2 separate regions of the Homo sapiens genome follow, and region 2 is linked to region 1. The links are contacts of gene promoters, found by promoter capture Hi-C in human tissues and cell types (Jung and others, 2019). All regions are on one chromosome and are shown on one strand. The core of a region is centred on a gene start or on the middle of the fragment in contact, and the rest is flanking DNA. Distances in the headings are between cores, read along the strand shown. Region 1 holds the start of PPM1E (protein phosphatase, Mg2+/Mn2+ dependent 1E). Region 2 overlaps SEPTIN4 (septin 4).

Region 1 (6,502 bases), core at 3,800-6,299:
TAAAAATACGAAAATTAGCTGGGCTTGGTGGCACGTGCCTGTAATCCCAGTACTTGGTAGTCTGAGGCAGGAGAATCACTTGAACCAGGGAGTCAGAGGTTGCAGTGAGCTGGGATCACACCACTGCACTCCAGCCTGGCAACAGAATGAGACTCCGTCTCAAAAAACAAAAACAAAAACAAAACAGAGAATCCAGGAAATTGGTTACACAAATTATGGAAGAGCTAAAAAGCCAAAAAGGAAAGATTCACTTCTCTAAGTCCTAAAAGATTAGAAAGCTGAAAGCTTCTACCATCCCTAGGCTAAAGGACAAATGGGGGAAGATGTTGTTCTGGAGCTGAGGGGATAGGGTCACTGGCAAAAGCTAGAGAATCCCAGTGAACATATTCATGGGGAGGAAAGCTACAAAGGAAATGCATCAGGCCTCAGGACTGAGCTAGGGAACAGGGCTTTTCTTCTTTCCTCCCTTCTTCCAATTTCTTGTCAGTGCCTACCACTGGACAAATCCCAGGTGAAAGTCAGCTGTCACAGTAGCCTAGTGAATACAGCCTGAAAGGGTCAGCCCTCCTACAATACAGAGCAGGGCAAAGGAGGAGAAAGAATAGGTATGAGGGCAAAATGGACAAGGACTGACACAGTAATCAATTCTTTTTAACTTTAAAAATCAACTTTATTGAGGTGTAATTTATATACAATTTATATACAATTTATATACAATTTATATACTTATTTTAAATGCAGACTTGGATAATTTTTTTTTTGAGATGGATTCTGCTATGTTGCCCAGGCTGGAGTGCAGTGGCTATTCACAGGTGCAATCATATTACACTGTAGCCTTGAACTCCTAGGCTCAAACGATCCTCTTGCCTCAGCCTCCAGAGTAGCTGGGACTATAAGCACATGCCACCCTGCCTGGCAATAATTTTTGGCAAATGAGTACACCCATATGACCAATCAGTCAAGATACAGAACATTTTAATCACTTCACAAAGTTCCTGCTTACTCCTTTGCTACAAATCTCCCACCCCATCCCAGTCCCAGGCCACCAGGAATCTGCTTTCTCTCACTATATAGGTTAATTTTGCCTGTTTGGGAATTTTATACAAATGGAAATATATTATGTACTCTTTTGTGCCTGGATTTTTTTTTTTGGCTCAGTATATTTTTGAAATTCATCCATGTTGTGTTTATCAGCAGTTCATTTATTTTTATTGCTGAGTAGTATTCCATTGTATGAATACACTACTTTATCTGTTCATTTGTTGATGGACATCTGGGTTGCTTCCAGGTTTGAGCTGTTATGAATGAAACTTATGTGAACAGTTATGTACAAGTTTTTTTGTGTTTGGGGTGTGTGCAAGTGCATGTGTGTTTGGTGGACATGTTTTATTTCTCATGAATAAAATACCTGGGAGAGGAATTGCTGGGTCATGTAAGAAACTGCCAAACTCAACAATTCTTTTTAACCTTATAAATGTCATTACTATGAATGTCCACAAAAGGACATTGTACATTTCCTCCAAAGAGCAAAGGGTTAGAGGGAGAATAATTTTTATGAGAAAAACTTTAAAAATTTGATACCTTAAAAATACGTTAAACTTTTCATAACAATATTTTTTTTCCTTTTTATTTTTTATTTATTTATTTTTTTTCTGAGACGGAGTCTCGCTCCGTCACCCAGACTGGAGTGCAGTGGCGCGATCTTGGCTCACTGCAAGCTCCGCCTCCCGGGTTCACGCCATTCTCCTGCCTCAGCCTCCCAAGTAGCTGGGACTACAGGCGCCCGCCACCACGCCCGGCTAATTTTTTGTATTTTTAGTAGAGATGGGGTTTCTCCGTGTTAGCCAGGATGGTCTCGATCTCCTGACCTCGTGATCCGCCCGCCTCGGCCTCCCAAAGTGCTGGGATTACAGGCATGAGCCACCGCGCCTGGCCTCCTTTTTAAAAAATATATTTTAGGGACAGGGTTTTTCTTTGTTGCCCAGGCTGGTCTTGAACTCTTGAGTTCAAGCTATCACAGCCTCACAAAGTGCTGGGATTACAGGCGTGAGCCACCATGCCCAGCCCTCAATATTTTTTAATAGATAGTATGCAAGGGGATTAGAAAAGTGTAATAAGAAAGGAGTTGAAAAAGAGAGCAAACTAATGCAAAATAATTACTAAAGACTTCTTGACAATGGCAAAATCATCCTACACAGCTGCTCTGAGATCTCAGCACTTGCTGTCAGCTACCTTCTGGCAAAGCTACTTTGTCAAATGGATGCAATAGGATCCATATTGATCTTTGTGAAGGAATATCTTTATTAATATAAGCAAACACGCCTCTCACTTATAGTAATGTAGAGGTGTGGGCTTTTTCTTTTAGTAGTATTGTTTCCCCAACATATATCACTTTCCTTTGAAATGTGGGCTGAGTCATAAATTAATGTCACAAATGAGGGAGGCAACTATGTTACAAAGTAGGAAGGCGTAGATATGAATTGTTACAGTTGACAGCTAAGTACTCTTGAACTAAATGTCATTATGTCAAATTCTGAGATATTAAACAATTGTTGAAATGTAAAATTGTGGACATTTAGGTTTGCAGCCTAAAAAGTTTTGTCAATCTTTTCTAGACATTCTGAAATGGAAATGAACAGGTGGATTGAAAACAAAGACAAATGAGGAGTTTAAAGACTTTCTTGGCACCTCATAGAGAAGTTGCTCTACGCTGGTTATGTTTTAAACAAAACACATATAAATACATTCAGCATTTCTGGAAACAGATTTATTAGATCTTTCCATTTACCTTTGGGAAAAAAATATAGAGGACTCAAGGCAATTATTCACTATATTCTTTCTATCATGTATTATTTAATCTCAAGCTAGGAGAGGAACTCTGTTTTACATGATGCCATAATGTACATTAGTGAGCTCAACCCACTTAATCTTAAAATAACAGTATCAGGTCAGGGATTTAGAATACAGTATTATATGAAAACAGTTGGCAGAGAGACTCCCTCTTCTGCCATTAATAACTGGAAACGATATTTCAGACCCTAAATCCAACTGAAACCCAGAAACAATACATGGAGAGGATGGGGTGGATAATTTGTGAGAACATGTTTTTCAAAGTAGAGAAAGAATCACTATGTTTTTGCTGAATTATATGTTGCCATGGACATGGCAGTTTGCAGTAATGATGCTATCATCTATACAGCTGTATAACAACACAGCTTCTTTCTCTCCCACTCCTTCAGTAAGGCTTAAAAATAATAGGTTTGTGTGTAGTTTGGTAAGAAAATTAGAATCACTTAAAGTCATTTCAATTCCAACCCAAGAAAGAAAAAAAGAGACTTGGGGGGATGGGGAAGAAGAGCAAACAAAATGTAGAAAAAATACATATTATTGGCCGGGCACGGTGGCTCACGCCTGTAATCCCAGCACTTTGGGAGGCCAAGGTAGGCGGATCATCTGACATCAGGAGTTCGAGACCAACCTGACCAACATGGTGAAACCCTGTCTCTACTAAAAAGACAAAAAAATTAGCCGGGCGTGGTGGCACATGCCTGTAATCCCAGCTACTCAGGAGGGTGAGACAGGAGAATCGCTTGAACCCAGGAGGCAGAGGTTGCAGTGAGCCGAGATCCTGCCATTGCACTACAGCCTGGGCAACAAGAGCAAAACTCCGTCTCAAAAAAAAAAGAAAGAGAAAAGAAAAAATACATATTATATAATGAAGTATAATATGCATTATGCAGAGACTAAAGAGGGGAGTCTTGGTTGCCTGAAAACTAATGGGTAAAATCCATTGAAGTGGGTGAATCCAGTGAAAAGACCTGGATTGAGTCCTTGTTGCATCCCTTGCATGTGACCTTGAGCAAAGTCACCATGTCTTTAAGGCTGTTTTCTCACCTATAAAATGGAATAATTGGCCGGCGTGGTGGGTCACACCTGTAATCCCAGCACTTTGGGAGGCTGAGGCAGGCAGATCACCTGAGGTCAGGAGTTTGAGACCAGCCTGGCCAATATGGTGAAACCCCGTCTCTACTAAAAATACAAAAGTTAGCCGGGGGTGGTGGCAGGCCCCTGTAATCCCAGCTACTTGGGAGGCTGACGCAGGAGAATCACTTGAACCCGAGAGGCGGAGGTTGCAGTGAGCTGAGATCGCGCCACTGCACTCCAGCCTGGGTGACAAGAGCGAGATTGTCTCAAAAAAAAAAAAATCATAACGGTAACGTCCTATACCTCAAGGGACTGTGGTAAGAATTAAAAGGGTGAAATCAATGTGTAAACTATGAAGCCCAATAGAAATAAGGTGTTATACAGACAATTGCACTATTGAATCTCCGGAGACAGAGTTGAGTTAAGGAAAAATGCACTTTCGGAAAGCTTTGGCGACTGAACGACCTGAGTTCTCCAACGCCAAGGCTGGAAGTTTGGAGACCTTGAAACAAGTAAATTACCATTAATATCATAATTTTCAGTTTCCTTTTAAGAAATGAGAGTAACACCACTTTCTTCACAGAATCAAGTGAGAGAGAACCTATGCAAAGGAACTTATCACTTGGTAGGTATTTGAAGCTCCCTCTGCCTGAAAACTACTTATTCAAAGACTGCAACAAAAGGTGTTCACAGTGTGGTATCTTTCAAAACATACGCTAAGGCAAGGAACAGATAAGGAAATGGAAGTACATCCAATTGGGATCCAAGCAACCCAAGTGGGAACCAACAGCTAGACTTGGAGATGTCTTAGCTCACTCTTAACCACGTGAGGGTAGGGTATCCAACCAATAAAGACATTCAGAGTTGGAGAGCGGGCGAGTGGAGTGTCCTTTAGACTCCGCGGACTCGACGGGAGGGACCCTGCAATGCTTAATTAGAACCGGTTGCCATGGCGACAGTCTCTAGGCAGCGTGGGCTGAGCTCTCCGTAGGAATAAAGGGTGGGCCGCCGCTGGACCCTGCGCGCGCCCGCCACCAACTTTCCCTCCAGATCCGAGAGGGGCGGCGCGCTCCGCCCCCGGGCCGCGCACGTCGGTGCTCGGCGGCGCGCACGCCTGCGGGAGCCCTCTCCAGGCAACCTAGTGCTGATCGCTCGTGCCGGTGCGGCCGTTAACCGCCCTTGCCGGAGCCCTAGGCTCAAAAGCAGCCCCTTACCCTTCCTGGGCTTCCCCCAACCCCTTTCCCGGTCTGCCCTGGGGCATGAGCAGCGATGGCCGGCTGCATCCCTGAGGAGAAAACTTACCGGCGCTTCCTGGAGCTATTCCTGGGCGAGTTTCGCGGACCGTGCGGCGGCGGCGAGCCGGAGCCGGAACCCGAACCCGAACCCGAACCCGAACCCGAGTCCGAGCCCGAGCCCGAACCTGAACTGGTAGAAGCTGAGGCGGCCGAGGCTTCGGTAGAGGAACCCGGGGAGGAGGCGGCCACGGTAGCCGCGACGGAGGAGGGGGACCAGGAGCAAGACCCGGAGCCCGAGGAGGAGGCGGCGGTTGAGGGTGAGGAGGAGGAGGAGGGCGCGGCGACGGCGGCGGCAGCCCCGGGGCACTCGGCCGTGCCGCCGCCGCCGCCCCAGCTGCCGCCTTTGCCCCCGCTCCCGCGACCGCTGTCAGAGCGCATCACCCGCGAGGAGGTGGAGGGCGAAAGCCTGGACCTGTGCCTGCAGCAGCTCTACAAATAGTTAAGTAGCTGGGCTTGGCTGGTGGTGGGCCCGCGGTCCCCACCGCGCCGGCCTCGGACGCGGCTCCCTCGGCCCCTCAAACTGCTCTCTTTTCTGCTCCTCTCCCCCGCACCCGCGCCTGCCGCCGCTGAAAGCGCCCCCGCTGCTCGGACCCGGGCGGTCGGCTGAGAGCTGCCCACGCCCGCCTCGGCCCCCACGCCCGCCTCGGCCCCCACGCCTCCTACCCGGCCTTGAAGCCGCTCTCCTGAGCCCCGGCGCCCTCCCGCCGGGCCCGGGCCCCTCATCCCCTTTCACCTCGGCCCCCAGCTTCTAGCTCCACTTCACGCAACCTTTCCCTTTCCTGCCTGGAAAGGTCCTTCCTCCCAGGCTTGAGCTCCCTCTTCTTCCCAGATCCCTTCTTTCTCCGGGAGGTTTCCTCCCACCCCAGTCTGTCTTTTCCCGGGCTGAGTGCCTTGTTGTTTGGCGGCAGAGACGCGACTCCTTTCTAGACTGAGCTGCGAGGTGCCTCCTGCGTAACTGCAACAATGATGGTTATACCGGCCCCGTATCCAGATGAGAGAATGGAGTAGATTTTCCGTCAGGTGCTCAGTGTTGAAAGTGAAGGGCTTTTTAGATGTTTTCACACAGGGAAGCCTAGTCTCTTAGTTTAGACATTTGACATTCCATAATTGAGGGAAGTGGGAAGGAATTGAGAGGGAAGGGTAAGCAAAATTTTGCAAGCAAGCCTTCGGGTGAAAGAGCCATAATTCATTAAAGTGGAAAAGTCAGGCTGTTTTGATTAAATTGCAATTAGGTGCAGTATTTTCAGTCCATTAAGTAGATGGGATGGGGTGGGGAGAAAGCA
Region 2 (6,722 bases), core at 1,175-3,674, 220 kb before region 1:
CAGCTTCAGTCCTGTCCTCAGGGACAGAATTCCCTTGCCATCCCAGTGAACGGTCCATGTCCCACGCTTCAGACTCCCTGTCAGAAAGCTCTAGGTCTAATTTTATCTCCCAGGCAAAGTTCCTCACACACAGAAACAGCCTTGTTTTGATGCTGTTGTTGTCTGGCTTCCTGGCTTGCTCCTTTCCCTTTCTCTTTGACCCCCTTCTGTCTCTGGCAGGGGCCAAAAAAGCCTGTGGAATGTCCTTCCCCACCCCTCTTCTCCTCCCCTTCCCTTGGCTCCCACCCTCCAAGGACAGCTCAGCTGCAGCAGGATCACTTGGTTCCTCTGCAGTCCCCTCCTCCTCTGATTGGCTGTCCCATGACGCCTGCCTGCTGCCTACCCTGGTGGGCACAGCACCAACCTCCCAATGTCTGTTTGCAGCCAGGCTTTTGATCCATTTGACCTCTCCTGTTAACCCCCAAGGACACTGTGGCCTGTATGAGGACTATGAGCTATCCCCAAGTGACCTGGCCCATCAGCACATGAGGACAGCCACCTAGGATACCCATTCCCAAAGGATTTCAATCCCCCAGTCTCTCTTTCACCTTAACTTTAAGCAGTGCTGGAGTAGGTGAGATGTCCTATACTCCCCCATATAGGTTTTTGTGGGAATGGTCCCACACTTCTTCCCAAGTGTTCATTTGTTTTTTTTTTTTTTTCCTGTGAGGAACGTCACTGTTTCAGAAATCTGCTCCTAAATTTCCCTGCAGGGAGCATCAGCCACAGAGAAGACTTTGCTCCAGGGACTCCCCTTACCCTAGGACACCTGACCTCTGACTTATAGCAACCTGTATCAATTAGATCACTCCATGGCTTCCATAGTGTCAACAGGGGAGCTGTTAGCACTTGGTCTCTGAGGAGCACGGGTTCAAGGCAATGGGAGGCTGGCAGCCCAGAAGCTTCAGAGCTGCCATTTAGGTGGGAGATAAATTAAGGGGCCTGGTTGGAAGTGTGCACTCAACTAGGGGTCAGGGGTCCACTGTTTCTGGTTGGGTGGAAACATCTTTTGTGAGTCTGGATAGTGTCTTAATTTGAGGACCTTAATGTTCAGTTGTGAATGGCCCTTCCTTGCCTCCCAGCGAGGCTGGGGAGAGAAAGCACTCCCAGATGATAGATACCTTAAGCTGCTTTGAACCTGAGAAGAGAAGGTGCATCCCAAGTCACAGGATGGTCATTAATGTTGGCCTGTCATTCTTTTCACATGTAAATTTAAACCCCCTGGCATAGCTGGGTTGGGGGGGTCTCCCCCACTGATTCCCAAAGCAGCTAGGACACTGACCTCCTTTGACAAAGAGACCCTCATAGAGGAGTCTGATCTGAACCAGTCAGCCTAAGAACTTGGCTGGCTTGAGGGCAGGGGCCTGAGGATGGGGACTTTGGTGATGGTGGTTGGGGTGGAGGGGGGTGTGTCTTTAATTAGAGAAGAACAGTGTGGCCTCGGACAAGCCGAAAGCACCAAGACCTCAGCTGAACTGAAGTTAGTGTGTGGCAGAAAAAGCCCCTCTAGCCCCTGCTGGGCTTGGCACTGGGGACAATCAGTGCTTCCCTAGGCTTCCATCCCTAGAACAATCAGTCCATCCATCCACCATGTGGGGAGAAGTGGGGGAAAGGAATAAGGACAGGCCTCTCTCAGGAACCCCCGTTGGGGGAAGGTCACAGGGTCACCAAGACTTCCTGGCCAAGGCTTGGGCCTCTGCCTGGACACAGCTTGAGAGACAAGAGCCCAAAAGGTTGGCCCTACCAAACCTGAAAGCTTCTGATCCCAGGGGGCCCAGGGAGCTCCCTTCTGGAGGCTGCCCACAGCCAACATCCCGCCCCACAGGCTGGTCAGTGATCCCCCCCTGCTGTAAACAGTTTGTGTCCCCCAATGCAGAGGGCAAAGGCTGTGGGGCTTCCAGACTGAGAGGAGAGGACGGTGTGTGGCCTAGAGGTCCTGACACCCTTACGTTATTTGTGGCAGGCTCTGGCAACAATGTCAGGAGAAGAGATTACATCTTCAGAGCCAAGCATCAAAAACTTCCTACCTGGGCACCTCCAGGGAGGCTGGCTGGGGTTACTGTTTCTCTTCCCACTACAGGCAGGTGGCAGGGATGGGTGCCCCCACCCCCACACACTGCAGAGGGACCTGGCTGGTGGGGAGGGAGCGGGTAGATGCAGCAGGAGGAAGCTTTCCCATGGTTCCTGTCCCAGGGGCAGAAGGATATAGCTAATCCCACCGGGCAGGATGGTGGGCTGGGCCTCCCCCTCTCTGGGGTCCCTTTGGGAAAGGGCCAGGGACTGCCCCTTGTCAGGCTGAGGGAAGGAGGGGCCAAGCGTCTTACCATCCCTCCTGGTGAGGCAGGCAGTGTTTGTGGGCCTCCTCTGCGTTTTCCAAATGAAGTTGGTACTGGCCCCTGTGCCCAGGGTAGGTGGGTGAGGAGGGGTTACTCAGGTAAAAGCTGACCCAGGCGAGGATGGGGACCCTCACCTCCGCTTATTACTGATGCGCCTTCCCCAGCCCAACAAGCGCGTCTCCACCAGCGGGCACCTCCCTCAGCACGGACCCACCCCTTCGTCCTAGAGCGCAGGCATCACCCAGGGGTTGGCGCCCACTCCGTGGCTGCTCAGAGGGAAAAACTTGGGAGCAGCGACGCACCGCCGCCCGGCAGCAGTGCCAGCCTGTGCCCGGGGCCGGCGACGGCGCCTCCCACCCTGCACAGCCGCGGCTGCGGTGCCGCGGGTCCCCTTGCAGCCGCCCGGGAGCGACCGGCCCTGCGCACCCCAGCCCTGCCCCGCGCCCGCCCGCCTGCCTGCCTGCCTTACCATGGCTGCAGCCCGGGCGGGGCCGGCTCCGCCTGGACAGCGCCCGAGCGACCCGCGGCGGAGCTGCGCGCCGACCTCGCAGCACCGCCGTCACCCTCCCGCCTCCCCGAGTGCGGACCGCTGCGGGAGGGGCCCGGCGGCGGGGGCGGAGCGAGTCGGCCCCGGGGCGGGGCCTGTACCTCAGCTGCTAGCGGTGCCGGCGCGAAGTGGGTCGGGGTGCCCAGCTGGGGGCCGGCCTCGCAGCCCGCGACCCCCGGATGCGCAGAGTATGCAGAGTCACCCAGGACAGAGCGGGGAGCCTCAGCTCCTCGTCCCCGGGCTGCACTGGACACCTGGCTCTTTTTTACTCAGCTCCAGAAGCACCGCGGGGGCTTGAGCCAGTTCCCAAAGAAAAAGGAACGGCCCACCTGACATCCCCAGAAGGAGACGCCTTTGGAAGGGAGGGGGAGTTGCTGCATGAGTTGGAGAGAAACCATTAGTTACCGCAGGGATTCAACAAGGTTTTCACAAAGTGAATCCGGCTGATGCCCAAGTTACTGATCACTACACCTCCTAAAGGGGAATGTCAGATATTCTCCACCTCCACCCGAGCTGTGAAGGGGCAGGTTAGAGGCAGGTTCCCTTCATGCAGTACCCCAGATTACAGATTAAAGAGGATTTGCTGCACAAATTATCCAGGGATCATCTGCTGGAAGGATAGAAGGGAGAGGCTGAGTGGCTTTAACAGGGCGGTGTAGCCTTGCCTGTGGCTGAGGACAGTGGGGAGGGCCTCAGGAGAGGCCAACCCAGGCGTGACCCAGGCCCAGCTGGGCCACTCTTCCTCTGACAAGCAGGTGAGATGCCGAGGGGACAGATGCCCCAGAAGCTTTAGAGGCATTAGAGGCTCAGAAAGGTCAGAGCAGCAGCTAGGGGAAGGCAGATGCTTGGTGAGTGGGGTGTTGGTGAGGGATTCCCTGAGCTAAGTAGGGTCTGAGCTGGTCAGGCTCCTGTGGAAGTTTCCAGAAGCATGTCCCTTCCTGACCCGCAAGACCCCTCTCTCAATGGCAGGCTGACTGGCTTCTGCCTGAATACACTCTGGACAAAACTGAGACCCACAGGCACGGCCCTCTCTGTTGGTAGAAGTGCCAGAGGCCTGCCTGCTGTATTTCAGTCTGACCTGTGAACCAGTAGCACTGGTTGGGACCAGTCAGAACTCAGCCAGGGGAGGGAAGAGGGCCTGGGGCAGCAGGTAAGATCAGGCTGAGAAAAACAATGGGGCTGCTACTGGAGATGTTATTGGCTGTTTGGCACTGGTGGACTGGAAGATGGCAGGGTGTTCATGAGCCAGCCGGTTGAGGAGAAACCTTCCTAGCTGGGTGGCCTTGAGCAACTTACTTCACCTGTCAGGGTCTCAATTTCCATACCTGAAAATGAGGGGATTAAACTAGATGATTTCTAAGCTTCCTTACAGCTCTGGCCTTCTAAAAGTGGATGCAGTGGGGGAAGGAGGATATGCTGTATGCTACTATAGGCCTTGGAGGAAGATAAGAGAACAAGGCAGCAGCAGGAGGTGCTGGAGAAAGGTTGGACATGCAGTGATTCAGGAGAGGGCCCAGGATCTGAGTGAAGGGGGAGGACGTGTAGGATGGGGGCAGCAGCTTGGGTTCCCTGAAAGGGAACCTCTAAAGGTACAGAGAGGCTCCCGGAAAAGACCTGGGGTAGATCAGGGGATCGGAAGCTGTACTCAGGAAAACAAAGACATAAAGAGAGAAACCAATGGCAGTTGGAAGTCTGCAGAAGCAGCAGCTGCTGCTACCATCAGCCCCAAATGTCAAGCTTGGACTATACAAAGCCCCACTGTTCAAAGCCCTGGGCCTCCAATACTCATGTATGCACTCTAAGAATACCTCTTGCGTGCTTCCAGAGTCCTGTGGCCTAGGGTAAGGAGAAAGCCTACATCAGGGAAGACAGGCCCCAGCAGAAACCCTTGTTTTCCTCTATTATAACATGCCCCTCCCCGTGGCCTCAGCTGAATTCCAAGTGTGGACACAGACACATTTCAAAAGGCAGCCCAACCAGCTCATCCTCAGCTGTGGCTGGAATCCCAGCTCTTCTCTGGCACCTGCTGCCCAGGCAGCAGGTTGGTACCAGCTTGCCTTGAGGAAAGTGAGGCCCCAAGCAAGTCCTGGGACCACGGAACTTAGCTCTAAGCCAAGAATATTGGGGTCTAATCTCTTTCTAATCACTGTACCACAGGCCTAACATGAGGCATGCTGGGTGAAATAAAAGCTGAAGACTGACTTTGAGCCATCCCACCTGCACAAGCCCTGCATGCTAACCTACTGCAGCATTCGGAGAGCTCTGAGAGAACTTGGCCTGGGCACAAGTCCCATGCCAACTTGGCTATTATCTCACTGCCTGAAAGTCCCTTGCCCTCTCTGGGCCTCTGTTTCCCCCACTGAAAGAGAAGACTGGACTTCTCCCAAGTCTAGCTCTTACATTCTGTGTGATGGAGGCAGGGTCTAATACCTGCAGGGCCAAGATACAGCAGCCCTTGCGTCAGTCACTGGGGATTTACCGAGTGCTCTTCCTCATCTCCAGCCAGCAGGTGGCCTGGCCAACTCTGCTTCAGCATGGCTTAACTCTTGGAGCGCTAGTTCTCCCTCAAAATTCAACATCCCACCAGGCATTGATGGCCTTGACTACAGTACAACTCCCCAGGCACTGCTAGGGCATGGTATCTGAGCCAAGTGTCTAGGGGAGTGTCTAGCTGGGAAACTCAGCTCAGCCACCATAGCTCTAGCCTGCTGTCTTGGGCTCCGTTGCTTAGGTCAGGCCAACATGATATGTCCTGGCCCCCTCCACTAGGTCTTTCCTGCCCACCCATAGGTGCAGGTTGTATGGCACAGGACCTAAGCAAGGAGGCTGCATGTGGGCCATCCCAGGGCCCAGGTTCAAAGCCGATAATAAAGAGCAATTACCACAGGAAATCAGGATTTCAGATCTGCATGACTAGCAATGGCCACTTCTGCCTTTCAGTAGCTAAGTTTCCCTAAAGTGGCGCAAGAACTAATTGTACATCCCTTCCCCAGTGAGATAGATGAGTCACTGACGATACAGTCAGAGAGTCCTTGGACCAAAGGCTATCACTGGGTTGTGTCTTTCAAGGAAACCTCAGCAAGTCTGTCCAACAAGGTCTGTGGTGGACAAAGGCAATAAACCAAAATACATTAAGCCCAAATCTTCCCCCAGCTGCTGCCATGTGTCCCATGATCCTGGGGGCAGGCATAAGGTGTGGGTGGCAAGGCTGGGGAACACTGTGTTTCCTGGCACCTGCTGAATGGCTGCAAAGAGGGGCAGTTCCAGAGCTGGCAGGGTGCTAGAAGCCAGCCACTCTGATAGGGCAGACAGTCCTTCCAACACCCTCCGTGAACAGGGCAGGGCCATAGGAGCTCAGGGTTGGAAAGGACTTACAAACCTCCTAATGTGACTACTCACCAGATGTCTGAAGGCTCCCCTGCCTTCCCAGCCTCTGCTCGAATACATACCTCCGATGGCCAAAAATTCACTGATTCTAACAACTGCCCTTCAACCTTTGGGCTGCCAAGTTACCAAAGTCTTCACTATACTGAGCCAAAATCTGTCTTTCCCTGGCTTTTACCCTCCATATGCCTCCATGCTGGAAGCTTTGCTGACTCATTTCATTGGACTTTGCTTTGTCCTTTGATGTCCACACCCTTTCAAGTGACCCATCTGTATACTTTTCTCTACCAAATTCACCACAAGCTCCTCAAGGGCAGGGACTATGTCTTTTCTTTTAACCTCTGCTCACTTCAAATCAGCAAACATGTGATGTGATGTTTTTCTGGGTGTCCAGGCCTCTGCCCCCAGGAGATGGC

Evidence for each region. Contacts are between HindIII fragments. The study calls those that stand out against the background at their distance.
Region 2: a contact is called between a fragment that was not itself captured here and the fragment with the promoter of PPM1E in region 1, in 1 of the 25 tissues and cell types used here (aorta).

What each region holds. Positions count from the first base shown.
Region 1 is chr17:58,750,805-58,757,306 of GRCh38, forward strand. It overlaps PPM1E (protein phosphatase, Mg2+/Mn2+ dependent 1E), which reads left to right and starts at 5,050. Exons shown (of 7, transcript NM_014906.5): 1 at 5,050-5,657. The coding sequence starts at 5,194. It overlaps LOC105371843 (a long non-coding RNA gene), which reads right to left and starts at 5,306. Exons shown (of 3, transcript XR_007065866.1): 1 at 5,227-5,306. RefSeq lists silencers at 4,869-5,058, 5,058-5,206. The HindIII fragment of the contact is 13,854 bases long and covers 2,329-6,502 here.
Region 2 is chr17:58,529,117-58,535,838 of GRCh38, forward strand. The region is part of intron 3 of SEPTIN4 (septin 4); the gene reads right to left. The region is part of intron 2 of SEPTIN4-AS1 (SEPTIN4 antisense RNA 1); the gene reads left to right. Among named protein-coding and RNA genes, the nearest start is that of SEPTIN4, 12 kb to the right of the region's middle. RefSeq lists enhancers at 1-324, 2,098-2,598 and a silencer at 2,696-3,145. The HindIII fragment of the contact is 6,319 bases long and covers 1-5,584 here.